Linked DNA regions of Homo sapiens: regions 2 and 3 are each linked to region 1. Evidence: promoter capture Hi-C in human tissues and cell types (Jung and others, 2019). All regions are on one chromosome and are shown on one strand. Each heading gives the region's core, a stretch centred on a gene start or on the middle of the fragment in contact. The rest is flanking DNA. Distances are from core to core; before and after follow the strand shown.

What was found. The method cuts DNA at HindIII sites, captures the fragments that hold promoters and counts their contacts. A contact is called where the count stands out against the background at its distance.
Region 2: a fragment that was not itself captured here is called in contact with the fragment with the promoter of FOXD2 in region 1 in 1 of the 25 tissues and cell types used here (neural progenitor cells).
Region 3: a fragment that was not itself captured here is called in contact with the fragment with the promoter of FOXD2 in region 1 in 1 of the 25 tissues and cell types used here (stomach).

What each region holds. Positions count from the first base shown.
Region 1 is chr1:47,436,760-47,439,459 of GRCh38, forward strand. It overlaps FOXD2 (forkhead box D2), which reads left to right and starts at 1,285. Exons shown (of 1, transcript NM_004474.4): 1 at 1,285-2,700. The coding sequence starts at 1,377. It overlaps LINC01389 (long intergenic non-protein coding RNA 1389), which reads right to left and starts at 558. Exons shown (of 5, transcript NR_126355.1): 1 at 531-558. RefSeq lists silencers at 405-1,304, 1,335-1,514. The HindIII fragment of the contact is 12,527 bases long and covers 1-2,700 here.
Region 2 is chr1:47,990,342-47,993,041 of GRCh38, forward strand. The region is part of intron 2 of TRABD2B (TraB domain containing 2B); the gene reads right to left. Among named protein-coding and RNA genes, the nearest start is that of TRABD2B, 5.7 kb to the right of the region's middle. The HindIII fragment of the contact is 3,895 bases long and covers 1-2,700 here.
Region 3 is chr1:48,191,825-48,194,524 of GRCh38, forward strand. No RefSeq gene overlaps it. Among named protein-coding and RNA genes, the nearest start is that of SLC5A9, 30 kb to the right of the region's middle. The HindIII fragment of the contact is 3,743 bases long and covers 1-2,700 here.

The DNA of each region.
Region 1 (2,700 bases), core at 35-2,534:
AGGGAGGCCGGGGGAGAAAGAGGTCTAATAGGATGGGCAGGAACCCGGCTAGCGAGAAACAAGGCACAGGGCCAACCTTAGTTGCACAAGACTTTTGAGAGATGAAGGCAACACTTGGTGGAGGTCAGGGTTCACTGAGGGGGTGTCGGGCAGGGGGCGGAGGAGGTCCTGCCGCCTGTCGGTGGGGCCCAGAACCCTGGGAGCCAGGAAGGTGGGGGGTGTCCAGTCCTCAGGGCAACTGGGGCCAGGGAGAGGGGAGGGAGAAATTAAGCGGATTCCCAGACCCATGAACAGACATCCAGACAAATGCCGTTTCCACAGAGACTCACGGAGAGTGAGATAGTCACAGAGACTGAGACAAACGGATGCCGAGATCCAGAGGGTCGGAGAACAGGCAAACTCGGAGCAGTAGACCGGCCCGCGCCCCGGGAACGCGGCCACAGCGGCCGGCGCTCTGCCCGGCCTCTCCGCGCGGAGAGGGGTGGCGGGCCCGACAGCGGAGGGAGGAGAGGGCGCCGCCGCAATCTCACCTCTCCCAGGCCCAAGGCTGCGGGCGCCAAGTTCGCTCCTGGTGATCACTCGAATGCGTCTCCCCTCGGGCTGGAAGCCGTGCGGGCTCGGGTGGGCGCCGGCGGGCCGCGCTGGGGCGGCGTGGGTCCCGGCGTCTCAGCCTCGCGCTCCCACTGCGCTTCGGCCCGGTGGCCCGGGCGCCGCCTTGGGGAGAGGACGGGTGGGGACCGCCGCCACTTCCCTGGCTGCGGCTGGCGCCCGAGTGAGCCTTAACATCCAGGGGCTGAGCGTTCTGAAGGCGGCGGCTTCAGGGAGCACAGGGTGCAGGAGCGGCGGCGAAGACAAGGGCCCGCCTCCGGCCACTCGAGCCCAGCTCCCGCCGCGGCGGCGGTTTGTTCCCGCCGGGTCCCTCAGCGGAGGCGCTACGCCCGCCCCTGTCGCCTCGCCCCACCCCGCCCAGGGAGCTCCGCCCTAGCCCGCAGCTCTTCCGCCTTAGGCAGCCGCTAGGCGGGAGGGACAATCCCCCACCACCAACCACTGCCACCCCGAGGGGACTAGGGGCTGAGGCCCGCCCAGGTAAGGGAAAGCCTCAGCTCCTTCCGTTGCGCCCCAGCGGCGGGTCCCAGCTCGGATTCCCGGGGTAGTGGCGGGGGCCGCCGGCGGGTCGTGCCCTGGAAGGTGAGCGCGGCCGAGCTGGGCCGCCAGGGGGCGCTGCGGAGCCGGGGGACACCCCTCCCTGCCTGCCTCAGTCCCCCGCCCCCTCCCCGCCCGCGCGCAAAACGCACTCGCCCCAGAGGCAGCGCGGCCGAGCCCGAGCCGCTGCCGGAGCGGAGCCGGAGAGTGGCGGCGGCGGCGGCAGCGGCACCATGACCCTGGGCAGCTGCTGCTGCGAGATCATGTCCTCCGAGAGCTCCCCGGCCGCGCTGTCCGAGGCCGACGCAGACATAGACGTGGTGGGCGGCGGCAGCGGCGGGGGGGAGCTCCCAGCTCGCTCCGGGCCCCGCGCCCCCCGGGACGTGCTCCCCCACGGCCACGAGCCTCCCGCGGAGGAAGCCGAGGCAGACTTAGCCGAGGACGAGGAGGAGTCTGGTGGCTGCTCGGACGGCGAGCCCCGCGCTCTGGCGTCCCGGGGGGCGGCGGCCGCAGCGGGGAGCCCGGGGCCAGGCGCCGCGGCGGCCCGCGGCGCAGCGGGGCCCGGGCCGGGACCGCCGTCGGGGGGCGCGGCGACGCGGAGCCCGCTGGTGAAGCCGCCCTACTCGTACATCGCGCTCATCACCATGGCCATCCTGCAGAGCCCCAAGAAGCGGCTGACGTTGAGCGAGATCTGCGAGTTCATCAGCGGCCGCTTCCCCTACTACCGGGAGAAGTTCCCCGCCTGGCAGAACAGCATCCGCCACAACCTCTCTCTCAACGACTGCTTCGTCAAGATCCCCCGCGAGCCGGGCAACCCGGGCAAGGGCAACTACTGGACGCTGGACCCGGAGTCGGCCGACATGTTCGACAACGGCAGCTTCCTGCGGCGTCGCAAGCGCTTCAAGCGGCAGCCCCTGCCGCCGCCGCACCCACACCCGCACCCTCACCCGGAGCTGCTGCTGCGTGGCGGGGCCGCGGCGGCGGGGGATCCCGGCGCTTTCCTGCCCGGCTTCGCTGCCTACGGCGCCTACGGCTACGGCTACGGGCTGGCTCTCCCGGCCTACGGCGCACCCCCGCCGGGGCCGGCCCCGCATCCGCACCCGCACCCGCACGCCTTCGCTTTCGCCGCGGCAGCCGCCGCCGCTCCTTGCCAGCTGTCGGTACCCCCAGGCCGCGCCGCCGCGCCTCCACCCGGACCTCCGACGGCCTCGGTGTTCGCAGGCGCGGGATCGGCCCCAGCTCCTGCGCCTGCCTCAGGCTCGGGCCCGGGCCCGGGCCCCGCAGGCCTGCCCGCCTTCCTGGGCGCGGAGCTGGGCTGCGCCAAAGCCTTCTACGCGGCGTCCCTGAGTCCTCCCGCAGCCGGCACCGCGGCGGGTCTGCCCACCGCACTTCTGCGCCAGGGCCTCAAGACGGACGCGGGCGGTGGTGCAGGCGGCGGGGGCGCCGGGGCAGGGCAGAGGCCTTCCTTCTCTATAGACCACATCATGGGCCACGGTGGCGGCGGGGCAGCACCCCCGGGCGCCGGCGAGGGCTCTCCGGGACCGCCATTCGCGGCAG
Region 2 (2,700 bases), core at 80-2,579, 550 kb after region 1:
TACCAGTCCCTGGTGGCAGCAGGCAGAGCTGATAGAAATCTGCAGGTCTCAAGCTTGTCATAAGATCTGGACTCAAGACTTAGGCATCCTTGGGCCCCCAAGGGCAGGGGCTCACCGCCTCCTAATACTCCAACGTTCAACAAGGGATGACGAGTGGATATGGCTGCTGGGAGAAGGGAGTGGCAACTTCCCATGCAGCCTTCCTCTTTCCCTGCCCTGGAGCCAGCCTAGACTGTTTGCCAAGCACAAAACCAACATCCAAGTAGTCATTTTAACCCATCAACAACCTCCCACAGGTAGTATCTTCTCATGTCCCCACAAAAACCAGCTCAACTTTGAAAGACTGGTAATTGCTGCCCCATTGGATGGATGGGCATACCAAGTCTTGCCCAAGATTATATACAAGTTGTTGGTTTTAAAACGTTGGTTTTATATATATATATATATATATATATATATATATATATATATATATATATATATATATATATATAAAACGTTGGTTTTAGTGTTGAGGCTGGGACTGACACCTGGAAGCAAGTCTCCTATCTCCAGCCCACTGTGCTGAGCTGTCTACAATACAACAAGAAAACCTTCAGAGACCTGCCTCACCACCAGCCTCATAGCCGAAGGAAATATCTCTACAAGTATAAATTTTCCAAGAAAGACAATTTTAAGCCCTCAAGTCCTAAAGGGGAGAGAGAAACAGAAGAAAGAACTAAGGAATGATTACAGAAGATATCAAATACCTAGACAGGAGGAAGTCTAGAGAAACAGTGTGGGGAAGCTGGGAGAACACATCCTTCATACAGAGTCAGGCTGACTGGCTCTGTTCCTTATTAGCCACGTGACCTTGGGCAAGTCATTCAACATTTCTGGATGCCCACCTTAGAAAGCCATAGGGTTGTTATGAGAATTCAATGCAGTGGAAAAGCGTGTGGAGCCTCCTGCAGGGTGCCTGGCACGTGGAATTGATTAGAATCATCCTATGGAATGTCAGGGCTAGAAGGAGCTTGAATGATGACCTCATCTCAGTGTCTTATTTCACAGACCAAGAAAACAGGGCCCAGAGAGAGGAAGTGACTTGCCCAAGGTCACATAGCAAAGTCACGGTGATGTTGGGTCTAGCACCCTCAGTTTATTTTGAAATCAAAGACCAAAACCTAACAATAGACCTGATCTTCCAAGCTGCGCAAGGGTGGAAGAAGCTTTTTCCAGGGTTCCAAAACTTAAGCTTTCTTTCTCCATTTAACAAGCAAAATTATGGTTATTTCTGTCCAGAAAAAAATACAAAAATTTTAAAAACAACATTAATACTAAAATCCCAGATCTTAACAAAAAGACACTGTTTTAAGCCTTATTTTTCCCGCCTTCTTCTCTCACTGTCTCCCCAACCCAAATATTTTGCAATAACAGTAATGCTGCGAGGAAAGAAAAAATAAAAATCTGATGCACTTAACAGATATTTCAGTGCACTAATGCATCACAGATGTTCATATCAAACTGTGCACGCGTGCATGTAATTTTACTGAGAAGGCTGTTGCATTTCTGATTTTGAATTTTTGGATCCCTAATGACCTCATCTGCCTAGGCTCCAGAATCCCACCCTTCCCATTTAGTCCAAGGCTGCCCAAGGGGATGGAGGAGAGATTTCATCGCCTCCCTACAAAATGATAACAGGACAAATTGGCATGATTGGACACTCTGGCAGGTGGTGAAGGGTATGGAGATTAGGGAACTAAGAGGAGTTCTGTTTTCTTTTGTTTGGGACTTGCTTTCTGCAGCTCTTTTGAGGAGCTGGACCAAAGAACAATTTTAAGAGTGGGCCCAGGCTGGTGATGGGTTGGGCACATTTTTGAAATAGAATTGGAGTCTGTTTGATCTTCAAACATGAGCTTTGGAGACTGTCAGCAGGCTCCCTCCCGGCCGATGAATGGCTCTCAGTAACTTTTCCTAAAACATAACCTCACACACACTTTCCAGCAAATGTTTTCACCCTACCAAAGCCATCATTTGGTTGAACAGGAGTGTCTCCCGACCCCAAAGAAAGATAGTTTTGTTGTTTTAAGAGAGACGGATTAAAGACAGGGGCTGCTTAGCCAGAGTTTGTGTGTGCTCCCTTCAGCCTTTGTCGGATTCCTCTGTGGTTGGTGCAAAGAGAGTGTTGAGAGTGATGGTGGATACCTCACCTCCCCATCCTAAAAAAGATATCGAGGCCAGACCTAGGCCTCTGAACAGAGAGGCCTCCCACAAACCTGCCTCCGAAATGAGATGGGCGGTGAGCGCCGGGGGTCCCGACACAGATAATATCAGCTCCCGAGGCTGGCAAGGGAAAAGTCACTTCAGAGGGAGAAAGCGGCTATGTTCAGAGGAATCAGCACTGGGCCATAGAATACACAGGATTTTCCCCCGTGGAGAAGGAGTCAGGCGTAGTCAGAACCCTGCAGGGCGTGACTAACTGCCCCAATACTCCTGCCACTGGGGCCCTCTGGGTAAGGACTCCACAATTATGGGAGAGCCAGCAGGAGAACCGACAAACCCGCCTTTCATTTGGCCGGCAAATCAATCTGGCTTCTTACCTCCCCAGGGACAATATTGCATTTCCCTTGGAAAAACAAAGGCCAGAGATCTTGGAAAGGGGATCAGTTTCTGCCGCTGTTTCCCTGGTGAAGAGCTTGCAACATCTCCGGAGGAGCAAGC
Region 3 (2,700 bases), core at 158-2,657, 760 kb after region 1:
CCATCTCGGCTCACTGCAACCTCCCTGCCTGATTCTCCTGCCTCAGCCTGCCGAGTGCCTGCCATTGCAGGCACACGCCGCCACGCCTGACTGGTTTTGGTGGAGACGGGGTTTCGCTGTGTTGGCCGGGCTGGTCTCCAGCCCCTAACCGCGAGTGATCCGCCAGCCTCGGCCTCTCGAGGTGCCGCGATTGCAGACGGAGTCTCATTCACTCAGTGCTCAATGGTGCCCAGGCTGGAGTGCAGTGGCGTGATCTCGGCTCGCTACAACCTACACCTCCCAGCCGCCTGCCTTGGCCTCCCAAAGTGCCGAGATTGCAGCCTCTGCCCGGCCACCACCCCGTCTGGGAAGTGAGGAGTGTCTCTGCCTGGCCGCCCATCGTCTGGGATGTGAGGAGCCCCTCTGCCTGGCTGCCTAGTCTGGAAAGTGAGGAGCGTCTCCGCCCGGCCGCCATCCCATCTAGGAAGTGAGGAGCGCCTCTTCCCGGCCGCCATCACATCTAGGAGGTGAGGAGCGTCTCTGCCCGGCCGCCCATCGTCTGAGATGTGGGGAGCGCCTCTGCCCCGCCGCCCCATCTGGGATGTGAGGAGCGCCTCTGCCCGGCCGCGACCCCGTCTGGGAGGTGAGGAGCGTCTCTGCCCGGCCGCCCCGTCTGAGAAGTGAGGAGACCCTCTGCCTGGCAACCACCCCGTCTGAGAAGTGAGGAGCCCCTCTGCCCGGGGGCCACCCCATCTGGGAAGTGAGGAGCGTCTCCGCCCGGCAGCCACCCCATCTGGGAACTGAGGAGCGTCTCCGCCCGGCAGCCACCCCGTCTGGGAGGGAGGTGGGGGGGGTCAGCCCCCCGCCCGGCCAGCCGCCCCGTCCGGGAGGGAGGTGTGGGGGGTCAGCCCCCCCGCCCAGCCAGCCGCCCCGTCCGGGAGGTGAGGGGTGCCTCTGCCCGGCCGCCCCTACTGGGAAGTGAGGAGCCCCTCTGCCCAGCCAGCCGCCCCGTCGGGGAGGGAGGTGGGGGGGTCAGCCCCCCGCCCGGCCAGCCGCCCCGTCCGGGAGGGAGGTGGGGGGGTCAGCCCCCCGCCCGGCCAGCCACCCTGTCTGGGAGGTGAGGGGCGCCTCTGCCCGGCCGCCCCTACTGGGAAGTGAGGAGCCCCTCTGCCCGGCCAGCCGCCCTGTCCTGGAGGGAGGTGGGGGGGTCAGCCCCCTGCCCGGCCAGCCACCCCGTCCGGGAGGTGAGGGGCGCCTCTGCCCGGCAGCCCCTACTGGGAAGTGAGGAGCCCCTCTGCCCGGCCACCACCCCGTCTGGGAGGTGTGCCCAACAGCTCATTGAGAACGGGCCAGGATGACAATGGCGGCTTTGTGGAATAGAAAGGCGGGAAAGGTGGGGAAAAGATTGAGAAATCGGATGGTTGCCGTGTCTGTGTAGAAAGAAGTAGACATGGGAGACTTTTCATTTTGTTCTGCACTAAGAAAAATTCTTCTGCCTTGGAAAAAAAAAAAAAAAAAAAAGGAACAGGCAAAGATTTTATGACAAAGACACCAAAAGCAATCACAACAAAAGCAGACATTAACAAATGGGATCTAATTAAACTTAAGAGTTTCTGCACAGCAAAAGAAACTATCAATAGAATAAATAGCCTACAGAAGAGGAGAAAATATCTGCAAACTATGCATCCAACAAAGGTCTAATATCCTGCATCTATAAGGAGCTTAAACAAATTTACAAGAAAAAAAATAAGCAACCCCATTAAAAAGTAAGCAAAAGACATAAACAGACATTTTTCAAAAGATGACAAACACACATAGCCAACAAGCTTATGAAAAAAGAAGCTCAATATCACTGATCATTAGAGAAGTGCAAAGCAAAACCACAGTGAGATACCATCTTACACCAGTCAGAATGGCTATAAAGGTCAAAAAATAATAGGTGCTAGAGAGGTAGTGGGGAAAAGGGAATACTTATACATTGTTGGTGGGAATGCAAATTAGTTCAACCAATGTGGAAAGCAGTATGGTGATTTCTCAAAGAGCTGAAACAGAACTACCATCTGACCCAGCAGTCTCATTACTAGATATATACATGGAGGAATATGAATCATTCTACCATAAAGATACATGCATGCAAATGTTCATTGCAGCACTGTTCACAACAGCAAAGACGTGGAATCAACCTAAATGCCCATCAATGACAGATTGGATGAAGAAAATGTGGTACGTATATACCATGGAATGCTATGCAGTCATAAAAAAGAACAAGATCATGTGCTTTGTGGGAACATGAGCTGTTGTGGGAGCTGGGGCTATTATCCTTAGCAAACTAACACAGAAACAGAAAAAATAATATCGAATGTGCTCACTTATAAGTGGAAGTTAAATGATGAAAACTCATGAACACAAAGAAGGGAACAACAGACACTGGGGTCTGTTCGAGGGTGAAGGGTGGGGAGGAGGAAGAGGAGCAGAAAAGATAACTATATGTGTACTAGGTTTAATACCTGGGTGATGAAATAATCTGTACAACAAACCCCTGTTACACGAGTTTACCTACATAACAAACCGGCACCTAAAATAGAAGTTAAAAAAAAAAAAACTTGAAGTCAAAGAAAAAAAAACTGCCTTTGTAGATGATATGATTCTTTCTACAGAAAATCCCAAGGAATCTCAAAACGAACAAACAAAACCCTCGTGAAATTGATAAGTAGTTATAGA